3 separate regions of the Homo sapiens genome follow, and all the other regions are linked to region 3. The links are contacts of gene promoters, found by promoter capture Hi-C in blood cells and fetal thymus (Javierre and others, 2016). All regions are on one chromosome and are shown on one strand. The core of a region is centred on a gene start or on the middle of the fragment in contact, and the rest is flanking DNA. Distances in the headings are between cores, read along the strand shown.

Evidence for each region. Contacts are between HindIII fragments. The CHiCAGO score rates a contact against its expected background, and 5 or more counts as called.
Region 1: the fragment with the promoter of ZNF551 here is called in contact with the fragment with the promoter of ZNF470 in region 3 in 1 of 17 cell types (total CD4 T cells); the score reaches 5.3 in total CD4 T cells.
Region 2: a contact is called between a fragment that was not itself captured here and the fragment with the promoter of ZNF470 in region 3, in 1 of 17 cell types (monocytes). The highest score is 6.1, in monocytes.

What each region holds. Positions count from the first base shown.
Region 1 is chr19:57,680,699-57,684,936 of GRCh38, reverse strand. It overlaps ZNF551 (zinc finger protein 551), which reads right to left and starts at 2,960. Exons shown (of 3, transcript NM_138347.5): 1 at 2,693-2,960. The coding sequence starts at 2,773. RefSeq lists a silencer at 2,520-2,589 and an enhancer at 2,645-3,268. The HindIII fragment of the contact is 7,295 bases long and covers 1-4,238 here.
Region 2 is chr19:57,588,693-57,592,669 of GRCh38, reverse strand. It overlaps ZIK1 (zinc finger protein interacting with K protein 1), which reads right to left. Exons shown (of 4, transcript NM_001010879.4): 4 at 1-2,659. The coding sequence ends at 1,395. Among named protein-coding and RNA genes, the nearest start is that of ZIK1, 6.5 kb to the right of the region's middle. The HindIII fragment of the contact is 1,657 bases long and covers 493-2,149 here.
Region 3 is chr19:56,564,802-56,568,717 of GRCh38, reverse strand. It overlaps ZNF470 (zinc finger protein 470), which reads right to left and starts at 1,250. Exons shown (of 6, transcript NM_001001668.4): 1 at 680-1,250. ZNF470-DT (ZNF470 divergent transcript) reads left to right here and starts at 697. Exons shown (of 2, transcript XM_047439806.1): 1 at 697-1,645. The coding sequence starts at 697. The coding sequence ends at 1,635. RefSeq lists enhancers at 811-920, 1,301-1,510, 1,521-1,570. The HindIII fragment of the contact is 7,993 bases long and covers 1-3,916 here.

The DNA.
Region 1 (4,238 bases), core at 1,711-4,210, 1.1 Mb before region 3:
CGTGAAGTCCCCAAGATTGATCTTCCAAGACACAACTAACACGGGCTTACCCTTTACCCCTCTGACTCCCGTTCACCCATATGGCCCTCAGTTTATTCTCTCTCTTCTCATGTACATCACTCTTTGAACCACACCTGTCTCACACAGCTGCATTCCCACAGCCACAACCTCAAAGGTCACACAGCTTTTCCATGATTGGGACAGTTCATTCCATTATGAGTATCTCTCCTAGGACCCCAAATTCATCCCTGCTGCATCTATCCCCTGTTCATCCTCCTCTCCATCTTCTCATTTGAAAGAATGCAACAGGGCCTGGTGACACTAATGCCCCCTCTCTCCTTATGGTCCCATTGGTCATTGTGTTCTCCCACAGCAACAACAGGCAGGTGGGCAAGTATCTAAGCTCTGAGCCTGCCATGCAAGGAACCATACTCTCTTGTAAGGAAACTCTCCTGGAAGACAACAGACCATGGCTCCCAAACACAACCAAGGGTCTTGGTTCATACTTCACCCTTGTGTCCTCAACACCAAGGAGCCACCACTTCACATTCTTGTCTCCATGTGCACAATACTCTACCACACTTCTCTCACAGTGTCACTCCCACAGCCACAGCTTACTTCCTGCCTCATACCATGAGCATCTCCTTGGCCTCCCAACTGGTTACTCAGCATATGGGGCCCAGAGAGTGGCTGGCAAATTCAAATACGGTTCAGTACTATCCCAGATCTCTAACTGCACCTAAAGTTAGGGGCAGCCTCAAGTCATACCATGAAGGCCTTTCTACCTGACTATTCCTTGCTTCAACCTCACCCATCAAGAATCACCTGTGGATCTCAGATAACCAAGGCCTCTTCCACTTCTGGGCTGTGATTGCTGTCCCCCAACCAGTCACAGCCTTCCTCTCTCCAACTACCACTAATTCAAGGTCCAACCCCAGTGGCTCTCTACCCCGGGCCCATCGAGTCCCACAGATGGCCAATTATGCCCCTAAGATAACGTGACAGCCTGACTGAAACTTCCCAGATCCCACCAAGAGTTAATATAAAACCCTGGTCAGTCTGCAGAGAGGTGAATACGCACCAGTCCTAGCATCATCCTGTCTAACTCCTATGCCTCTACATTCATCTCATGTCTACTCACCCCTGAGAAGCCTTGGCCACATGCTAGATCATAATCTCTGTACGACCCTCACCGTGAACACTTCTGTCCAAGACCTGTGTTGCAACACCTCACACAACCAGGGGCTCACACAGGAGACCTGTCCTTGACCTTCCCCTCCCCTTCCTTGACAACTATTATTATCATTGTGAGCAGGCTTCCCCTCTACTAAATGTGATCCACAGCTCCACCCCGGCCCACAGATTGTCCACTACCTTTTGGAAAAGTCTCCATTCTGAATCTCTCCTCACTGTTCCTGACCTACAGTTCCAGCAGCCCATGAACCATTCTCTGAAAGCTCTCATACTCTTAGCAGGTCAAAAATAAAACTTCTGATATCCCAAATGAAAACTACTCCTACTATGTACTTCCCCATCTTAGTTGATGGAGCTTCCACACTTCTAACTGCCAAAATAAAACCTTTCAGTCATCCCTGACTCCACTCTCTTTCTCAAAACTAAAAATTCAGGCAGCCCTACTTAAAAAATGAATCCAGAATCCAACTGCTTCTCGCATCTTCACAGCCACCATTTTGGCCTATCACATTCTATCACATTCACCTGGCCTATCCCAGTAGTCTCCTCCCAGGTCTCCCCACCTCATCCTTCAGTTGGCTTCCCATGCTGCAGCCACAGGGAGCCTAATAAGACCAGAACCAGATCACCTCCCTCTTCCACTCCAAACCTCCCACTGTTACTATTAAGTAACGAATAGACAACTCAACTTCTCAGGGAACCATTCCGGGTCTGACTTCTACTACACTGCTCCCTGTTCTCATGAAAAGAAAATAATTGTAGGTTCCTGAACTATCTTAGCCTCCTCTCCAAACTTAGCATATACTGGTAACTTTGCCTTGGACAACCTTCTACATCTCCTTTCCCCCGGCTGCCAACAGCTTCATATAATCTAACCTGGACTTAAGACTCTGGGCTTTGTATTTGCTCAAAGTCTCAGGGCCCAAGGCTAGACGAGTGGCGAGGCTCAGGTCGCCCAATGACCCTGGTCCAGTTTTGGAGCCAGGTGGCCTGGGCTGGCTGCACTATCTCCGCACCTCAGTTCTCAGTGCTGACTTTACCAGCTGCGTGAGCTTGGACAAGAACTCAGTCTTCCTATGCCTAACTACTATTACCTCTCTTCAGCCTGTTCTTCCCCTGAGCAACTTTTGGATAGCTTTAGGAAATCCTAGCCCAGTGTCCCTATCTGTTCACAAATCTCGAAGGCTGCCAGTGTCCTCAGAATCGTCAAATTCGTCAGGTGCAACTCTGCCTCACTCTATGTTCCTGCAGACCCGAGACGGACCCCAGGCTCCTGAATCCCCCCCAGCTTAGTCGCAGCTCCAAGTTCTGCACGCGCCAGTCAACTGCCCGTCACATTTCCGTACACACTGGGCGTCACAAACGGGTCCAATCCACAAGCGCCTTCTTGTCCAGGGTACTGGGGCCTGGGCTGCAGGGCTGTGAGCAGGCATCCCTCACTGGGCCTTAAGGCTTCTGCTGGGGGAGGTAGGCGAGACCCGGAGGACGCACAACTCACCTGAGCCGAGTCCCTCAGCGCGACTGCCGCCATTGAGCTCCGTGGACTAGGCGGGGAGCGGCGGCCGACCGGGGCGGGCATTCGAACACAACAGTCCCTATCCCGGGCCTGGCGCAGCTCACCCGAGGTGGTGTCGCAGAACCTCTGGCCCACTTTCGCGACTTCTCTGTCCCGTCCCTCAGTCGCGACCTCCACTGCAGAAACTGGCGGGCTGGACAAACAGGACAGAGGCCAAAATGACCGCCACGAGGAGGACGCCGGAAGTTCCGGCCCGTCGCGCTGCGCGTGCGCGGAAGTGTTGCTATCCTGGGCTGTCATTGGCTCAACTCCGCCGCCGTTTTGCGCTCTGCACTCTGGATAATGTAGTTTCCAAAACTCCACGGAGCTCTTCGGAGTGTGTCCACTGCTTTGACCTCTGCGAACTTGTATTCTGAGGTGCTGTGCCCCGTGCAGGGAAATGGCGACTTCGGCCTCTAGGGGAGAAGGAGGTATTTACTCCTTCTTAAAGGGGCTTTTCCCAGATTTCTGGGAAGTGTTTTCCGTAACTGATCACTTAAGTGTTTAGAGACATTATTTCAGACTCCACGAAGCTCAGGGTGCCCCTAGAGGCAAACAAATATTATTTCAGGGGGTTGGGCGCGGTGGCTCACGCCTGTAATCCCAGCACTTTAGAAGGCCGAGGCGGGCGGATCACCTGAGGTCAGAAGTTCGAGACCAGGCTGGCCAACATGGCGGAACCCCATCTCTACTAAAAATACAAAAATTAGTCGGGCGGGCCGGGCGCAGTGGTTCACGCCTGTAATCCCAGCACTTTGGGAGGCCAAGGTGGGTGGATCACGCGATCAGGAGTTCGAGACCAGCCTGGCCAACATGGTGAAACCCTGTCTCTACTAAAAATACAAAAATTAGCCGGGCATGGTGGCGAGCGCCTGTAATCCCAGTACTTGGGAGGCTGAGGCAGGAGAATCGTTTGAACCTGGGAGGCAGAGGTTGCAGTGAGTCGAGATCACGCCATTGCACTCCAGCCTGGGCGACAGGGGGAGACTCCGTCTCCAAAAAAAAAAAAAGAAAAAAAAAATTTGGATTTTGGAGCATTTTGGATTTTAGATTTTTGGCTCAGGGATATTCAACCTGTATTTTGTTCTCATTAAATAGGTTCCTCTTTCACTTTGTTATTGTTTGATATACTAAAGTTTTAATTTTCATGAAGTCTAATTGGTCTATTTTTCTTTTGTCACATGTGTATTTGGTGTCAAATCCAAGAAATTATGGCCAAATTCAATGTCATAAAACTTTCACCCTATATTTTCTTTTAAGTGTTTTATAGTTTTGGGTCTTATGTTTAGGTTTTTAGTCCATTTTGAGTTCATTTGTGTTTTTGGTGTTAGGTAAGGGTTCACCTTCATTCCTTAGCATGTGAATATTTCATTTTCCCAGCATCATTTGCTGAAAAGATCATCGTTTCCCCATTGAGTGGTCTTGGTAGCCTTGTTGAGATCATTTGACCATATACATTACTATTGCAAATGATATTGTTTTCTTAATT
Region 2 (3,977 bases), core at 72-2,571, 1.0 Mb before region 3:
GCAACCATGAGTCCCTCCATGCAGGAAATGTTGGCAAGCAATGAAGGCTGTGGCAATTTGAGACAACAGCAACACTGGTGGAAATCACAAGAGCTATCAATACATCCCTGGCCTATAGGACTTCTGTTATCTTTATCCTCCTTTTTCTGCCTCTACAGCAATGCACTTGAGGTGAACAACCTAGAAAACCAACAAGAATTAAAAAATAAAACCCTTTAATTATTTTTGCTGAAAATAACCTCAGCTATTGGACATACACAGATTTCTAGGTCCTATGACTGCTCAAAGCCACAGTCACGGGAAGATTTGTAAATGTACTTTTATAAGAGGCACATTCCAACTAGTTTGCTACAGTACACACAGTACAGAAATACCCAGGTATTTCTGTACCAATTACAGTTCACATGTGACTCGCGTTGTCTTCTGCGTGACATCGGCCTATGGAATGTTTGATATCAGGGCATGCCTCCTTATAGAACCCCATGAAAAGCTTCTCAGCAGCACTGGGCATCATATGACATCCTCTGGAAACAATGGAATAAAATTGTCCTATTCCCTGAAGCACACATGCTTGTCATAACAGCTGGCCTCTCCTCAGGATGACCTCTAGTCTCACAGAAAGAATAGGGATCCAGGCCACAAATTAGAATAACCAAAACCTTGCATTTTTTCCTAGGAGATTTTAGGTAGCAAAGCAAGTATGACCAAAACCAGAATTAGAATTACTCTGTCATCTTACTTTCCTGCAGAGGCCCACAAAAGCCATCCATTCCTTCATATAGAGTTGAAGTCTGTCTCCCAGCCACCCCACACAGTAAACAGAACCCCAAGACTACAGGTAGATTCAAATATAAGGCTTTTATTAGTGCACAAACTGGAGCAATGTGAGGCAGCCATTCACCACGTGGTGACATGGAGGCTGGAAGAATGACCAAGTGTCATGTGAGACCAAGAATTTACATGAAGGGAATCCTTGCACATAAGTGTCCAGCAGAACCAAGGCTGGGCCCTCCTGACCCAAACTGGGTCACACGTATGCTGTGATCAGTCAGAAAAAAGAATGAATTTTCTCTAAAGGCTTAGACTGCTCAAGATTTCCTCCAAAGACTTAAGAGAACACACAGATGTCTGCCTTGTCTTAGCACATAGGAGTGACCAGTGCCCACTGTGCAAGGTGGTAGAGGGTAGATGGTTTCTACCAGAGAAACAAGGAAGAATGAGGTTCAACTTCAGGCAGATGGCTCCCTCACAAAGGCTCTCTACTGCTACAATACTACAGAGACAGCACTTTCCCTGTAGGTCTAAGGCTCTACTTAAGTGTGGACTTTCAGGAGCTAAATGATGATAGATCTTGAGTTGAAGGCGCTTCCACATTTGCTGCATTCATGAGGCCTCTATGTGTTATGACATTTTTGGTGATGTATGAGGCTGGAGCATTGGCTAAAGGAATTCCCACATTTGTTGCACTCATAAGGCCTTTCTCCAGTGTGAACCACTTGGTGTTGAATGAGACCAGACTTTTGGCTAAAGGACTTTCCACACTGGCCACACTCATAAGGCCTTGCTCCAGTATGAATTCTCCGGTGTTGAATAAGGATGGAGCTTTGACTAAAGGATTTCCCACAGTCACCACACTTATAAGGCCTTTCTCCAGTGTGAACTCTCTGGTGTTTAATGAGGGTAGCTTTTTGACTAAAGGATTTCCCACACTGGCCACACTCATAAGGCTTTGCTCCAGTGTGAATTCTTCGGTGTTGATTAAGAATGGCACTTTGACTAAAGGAATTCCCACATTCACCACACTTATAAGGCCTTTCTCCAGTGTGAACTCTTTGGTGTTTAACAAGGGTGGCTTTTTGGCTAAAGGATTTCCCACACTGGCTACACTCATAAGGCCTTGCTCCAGTGTGTATTTTCTGGTGGTCAACAAGGCTGGAGTTTTGTCTAAATAATTTTCCACATTCGCTGCACTCATAAGGCCTTTCTCCGGTGTGGATTCTCCGATGATCATTCAGGTGGGAGGTTTGGCTAAAGAATTTTCCACATTCATTGCACTCCCAAGGCCTTTCTCCAGTATGGACTCTCTGGTGCTGAACAAGTGAGTACTTGCCACGGAAGGCTTTCCCACATTTGCTACACTCATAAAGCTTTTTTCCAGTGTAGACTCTTGGATGGTAAACAGGAGTGTGTTTGTGCCTGGAAGCCTTCCCACATTCACCTGACTTGTAATGACTTTTTTGACTGCGAATGTCCTCCCCACATTCAGTAATTGTGCCGGGTTTCTTGCCTCCAGGAAAGACCAGGGACCTCAGAAGCCGCAACATGGCTGGAAGGTCCTTTCCAACCTCCCATTTGCGAAAGGGCTTCAATGACATACAGAATAGGCAGCACTTCACATATGAGGCTCTGTCCATGTCCCTCTTCAAGGATTTCTTTGCACTGTGATGCTTCTGGTGCTGGTGATGGTTTGTACATTCTCCAACCAAGTATGGTTTCTGCCCAGGGAGATCAGCTAGATGCAAAATATCTTTCAGGACTGGGACACACATCTCACAGGATTGAGTCTTCTGTGTGGATGAACCTGCCTTTGACTGTGACACTCCTACAGAAACATTCTGGTCAGAAGGTGTCTCTTCATCCTCTGTTCCATGGCCACAACCTGAAAGCAGAGAACCGCTGATGAAATATACATTGACTATGCTGAGAGCAAGAAGCCCCATTACACACATACCAAACGAATGATTCACCAGGTTTGTTTTGAGGATAATGGAGCTGGGGGCAAGTTGAGGAAGGGGTTGCTTTGCAATACTGGATCTCTAAAGATCACAGAATGAGGGAGGCCTCACCAAATAAAGGACACAAGGATGGGATGAAGGACAGGGAATGGCATTGCCTTCAAACCATTCCTCTACCAACAGCCTCAAAAATTATCCTTGAGTAGCCTTCCAATTCCTAAAACTCACCACATAGTCTTCAGGAGGACCTTGTCTGCTGGTGACACCTGCATGCTGTGCAGAAGGTTGACTGTGCCCAAGCCCAGGAAAATACAATTGAAACTGAGTAGCAAGTGATATGATCACATATCTTCATGTGGTCATATATACATACTTCATGAGACATTATGTGTGTGTCAATGTTGGAAAACATTGCAGAGGGAGCAGTGCAGAGAAGCAGATGATGCATGAAGATCAGAAAGGTGGAGGTAGCCAGGTGCTAGAAGTCATAGATAAAAATAATAAGAGAGAGAAGTGTCAAGTACTGAGAAGAAAATATAGAAATGAGATTTGGCCAGTGGCATGTGCACCCAAACAGTGGTGAAGACAGGACAGGCTCCTTATGTGATCGGAAAACAGCCCGGATATCATGCCCCCAACCAGTTGCCACTCAACAAGCCCAGGCCTTCTCTGAGACCATGTTCACCCTATAAAGCAACCAGGTTTCTCTGCACACCCTCAGTTGTCTAGCTATGTGGGACCTTCATGAAGCCAAGTCCTACCAGAAAGACAGAACATGTGAGTGATCAGCACTGATGCAGAACGACTCAGCACACAACAGCCCATGGGCAAGAAAGTTAATATCATTAAACAAACAAACAAACAAACAAACTAGAAGGAGTGAGTAAGAAGAGCCCATTGTCCCCATAAGTATAGACAATGACAATGACTACAATCATGACACAGGTAGCCACAAGAAAATGTCAGCTAGCAGATGGGGGTGCAGGGAACTTGGGACACAAGGTGTCATGGATCTGAACACAGACACCCAGCCAAGAAGAGAGCAAGGAACAGAGATCCATTTGGCTGACTGAAGAACACCTGCTGCCCAGTGGCAGGTGTTCCCAGACCACTGGGCAGCAGGTGTTCCCAGACCACTGGGCAGCAGGTGTTAGGGCTACTCAGGCAGTGCACAGTGCTGGATCCCATAGCACATATCCCAAGAAAGTGGAGAAGTCAGCAAAAGACCATAGACAGACCAGG
Region 3 (3,916 bases), core at 1-2,500:
TGAAGTTTGGTGCTGATACTCCCAAAAGGTCTTAGAACTGTGTCTGGCACATAATAAACACTCATTAAACATTAGCTATTACTATAGCATGCAGGAAACTAAACAAGCACAGAACAATATGGCTAAAAATAGCCCTTCCTCCCCCTTTCTCTTTATTGGAGTGGGAGGCCAGAGGGGAGGGAGAGAAGCCCAAGGAATGGGGATATCTTCCGTTATTGACTAGAACGTGATTAAGCCATAGAAAGGCTGGAATGCCTCGGCATTTCTGGGTGAAGCTGTGAATCTCGCCTTCTTCCCAAATCCTACAGTGATAGATGGGACAAGGCTCTGACGGGTAAAAATCTAAATGCTGAGCTATTCCTTCAACAGCAGCAGAGTACCCAGAAGTAATGCTATAATGGGTAATATTACGGGTAGTGTTCTCTCCCATGGGCCCTTAGTGATATACCAAGGACCTGAGTCAGGTTATCTGGTTAGGTGTCTCTGGCCAAGTCAAGGTCCCTCCCTAACTAAACCCAGCTCCACTCTGACCCAAGGTGACCCTCCAAATCTTTCGACTTCCAGGTCCACTAGCCTTAGAAACGGGGGACATCCTCCTCCAGCACCTGAACCCCGAAAGACAGCACCCAAAACCTCAATGTCCACTCCGGCAGCCACATCCGTCATCTGTCACTCTTACCTGTGTACTCAGTCCCCATGGTCTTCGCTCCTCGCCGTCCTGTGGACATGGAGCCCTGTCCTGGGCTCTGCCCCTTCCAGATAGGGCTGACAGGAAATGCTTCAGCCGAGGCTGCCCCGCCCGGGCAACTTCCCCGGGCTCTAGGACTTTGCCCACACTGGGCTCTACGCAGTCGATACAGGGGAGAACGGGGTAAGCCTCCTCCGGCCGGGTTTCCTGCTCTTGGCCACTTAAAGTGCTTCACTCATTCCAACACACACCGCCTTCCGCACGCCGCCGGGCCATGCACGCAGGCGCAGATTCGCGGCCACGCACCGGACAGTCACACACCGGGCCGCCATCCCCGCGCGCGCTCGCCCCTCCTCAGCACAGCACCGCACGCTCACCACGTATGGGCACTCACAGCCACCAGGCCACACGCGCACGCTCACGCCCGCCGCCCACACAGGAACCAGGACACCGCCCCCGCCGCGCCCCAGTCCAGCCTCGGCCGCTGCCCCGCCCAGACCTCCCTTCTCCTCAGCAACCGGCGGGACGTGCACTCGCCCGGCTTTGGGTCCTTTCCGGAAGTGGGCGTGTCCTCCGCTGCAATAGCCCCTGGGAAGTGTAGTCCGGAACGGAGGCGGCGTTCAGAAATAGGGCGCTGGCTTTGCCAGGAGCGGCTCCTCTCCAAGCCTGGCGGTCACTGCCCTGTGTCCCCTTTTGGGCCTCTCCTGGTCCTCCTGGTTGGATTAGGAGGCCTCTCAGCCCGGAGTCTGGGTCGCCGAAGTACAGGCCCCTTCACTGAAGCGACCCACGGCGCAGGGGTTTCTGGAAGCCATCGCCAGGCTCCGAGTGTTCAGATGCAGCTGCCAGGCTCAGGACGCAGAGAACTGGCTTCCAGCTCGCAGGAGCGCCTGTCCGTGGTGGGTAGGGTCGCAGGCGTGGGGTGTGCAGGAGCAGTGGGACAGCACTGAAACGCAGTCGGTAAGGCGTAGCGGCTACCCTCTGGAGAGGAAAACCATGACAGGGCGGGGCTTGGGGCGCGGGCGGGGCCTACGCGATAGAAAAGTGAGGAGATTGGGATTTGTCTGCTTTGCACACTTGTGACTTTCTGATGGTGCGCGTGTGGAACCTGTTTTATTTCATGCCTACTAGTTACTGCTCTCTGATATACGGTACGCCCCTCACCTCCCCCCACCCCATTTTATCTCTCCCTGCTGGAAGGAGGGTTCCAAGAAGGCACACAGCTTCCGTCCTGTTCAGGGTTATATTCTCAGTGACTAAAACAGCACATAGTAGGTGCTTAGTTTTTTATTTTTATTTTATTTTTTAGGAAATCACGAAATCTAGCATTGCCAGTCTCACCATGACACAACATGTTATAGGCTGAATATGTCCTCCCAAAATTACTATGGTGAAACCCTAACCCCTAGTGTGATGACGTTAGGAGGTGGGACTTTGGGGAGGTAACTGGTTTTAGATTAGGTCATAAGGGTGATACCCTTATGATGGGGTCAGTGCACTTATTAAAAAAGAGGAAGGAGGGGTCTCCATGTTTACACAACCACCAAGCAAAGGCCATGTGAGGACACAGCAGGATGTAACCCATTTGCAAGCCAACGGGGCCCTCACCAAGAACTGAATGTGCCAGCACTTTAACTTCCCAGCCTCCAGAATTGTGAAAAATAAAGTCTCTTAGTCAAGTCACTTAGTCTATGATATTTTGTTATAGCAGCCCCAGCTGACCAAGATACAGCATCATAGATACTGGCTCACCAGAAACTAACTCACCCTCCCAGTCACACTCAATCACCCAAGGCCACACAGTGACATCTAGACTGGACTCTCCTGGATCCAATTTATGTCAGACATCATAAACAACATAATAAAGCCAAGTCTAGCTGTGAAGATACTTTAACTATGAAACAGCAAATATCATCTTAGAGCTTGTAACGTTTGTGGTTATTTGAGTTGGATGAAAATGATAATATTCTCATTTTAGCTCTGGCATATAAAGAGCTCGGAAGCCTTCATTCCCATCTTCACAACAACAAAATCATTCAACAAACTGAAAATCAACTTTTCTTAGATCCATCAGAGAACTGAAGATAGAAAGGTAACTGACACCCCAAAATCCCGAGAAAGAAAAATACATAAAATTACAGCCAAGATTAGCTTACTTGAAGCAGAAGCCACTGGAGTTATAAACTGGTAAAAACTTTTATTTTTTATAATTTTGATGAATTGCTGGAGGCTTAGTGTGGGCTAACTTGTGAGTTAAAAACTCCTAGGGGCCCAATCTTAGATGGGCCCCCACACTTTCGTGAATTTTACCTCCAGAAACCCTATCAAATTCTCTCAGTGAAGAATGGGGAAAAATCTCAGGTTTTTGGGCAAGGGGAGGAGAAAAGTAAGCACCACATTTTCCATAATAAACACCTGCACTCCAAGAAAAACTACTTACTAGAGTCTTGTTGGACCTTGGGGAGAGGCAATTGGCCAGCTCCAGTCCCTCTATAGCCTGTCTGTCTCAGTAAGGCAGGATTTTTGAAAGGCTAAGAAGTGCTTCTGAAGATCACAGTCCAAGGCCTCAAGCCCACTAGAAAAATAGTATTTAATAATAAGATTATAGAATGCTTCCCTCCCCACTGTACCTCACTGCCACACTAATGGGGCTCTGGTCAATAACAGTAGATTACAACAGAGAAAACTGCAAGGCACAGACTCTATTTAAGAAGGAGTTCTTAGGGAAGCCCACAGAAGGAGAAGCATCTTGGAAAAAGTAGACAACATGCAAGAACAGATGGGTAATGTAAGCAGAGAGATGCAAACTGTAAGAAGGAATCAAAAGGAAATCCTAGCAATTGAAAACCATTGTAACAGACATGAAGATTACCTTTAGTGAGCCCCTCAGACTAAGACACTCTGAGAAATGAATGGGTGAGCTTGAAGATATGTTAATAGAAATTTCCCAAACTGAAATACAAAGAGGAAAAAAAAAGAATGAAAAAAGAAAAAGAACAGAATATCCAAGAACCATGGGACAATTACAGAAGGTGAAATATATGCGTAACTGGAATACCAGGAGGGGAAGAGAGAAAGGAGAGAAAATATTTGAATAATGACTGAGAATTTTCTAAAATTAATGACAGGACACCAGGCCAGTGTGGTGGCTCATGCCTGTGATACATACCAGCACTTTGGGGGGCCAAAGTGGGAGGATTGCTTGAGCCCAGGAGATTGAGACCAGCCTGG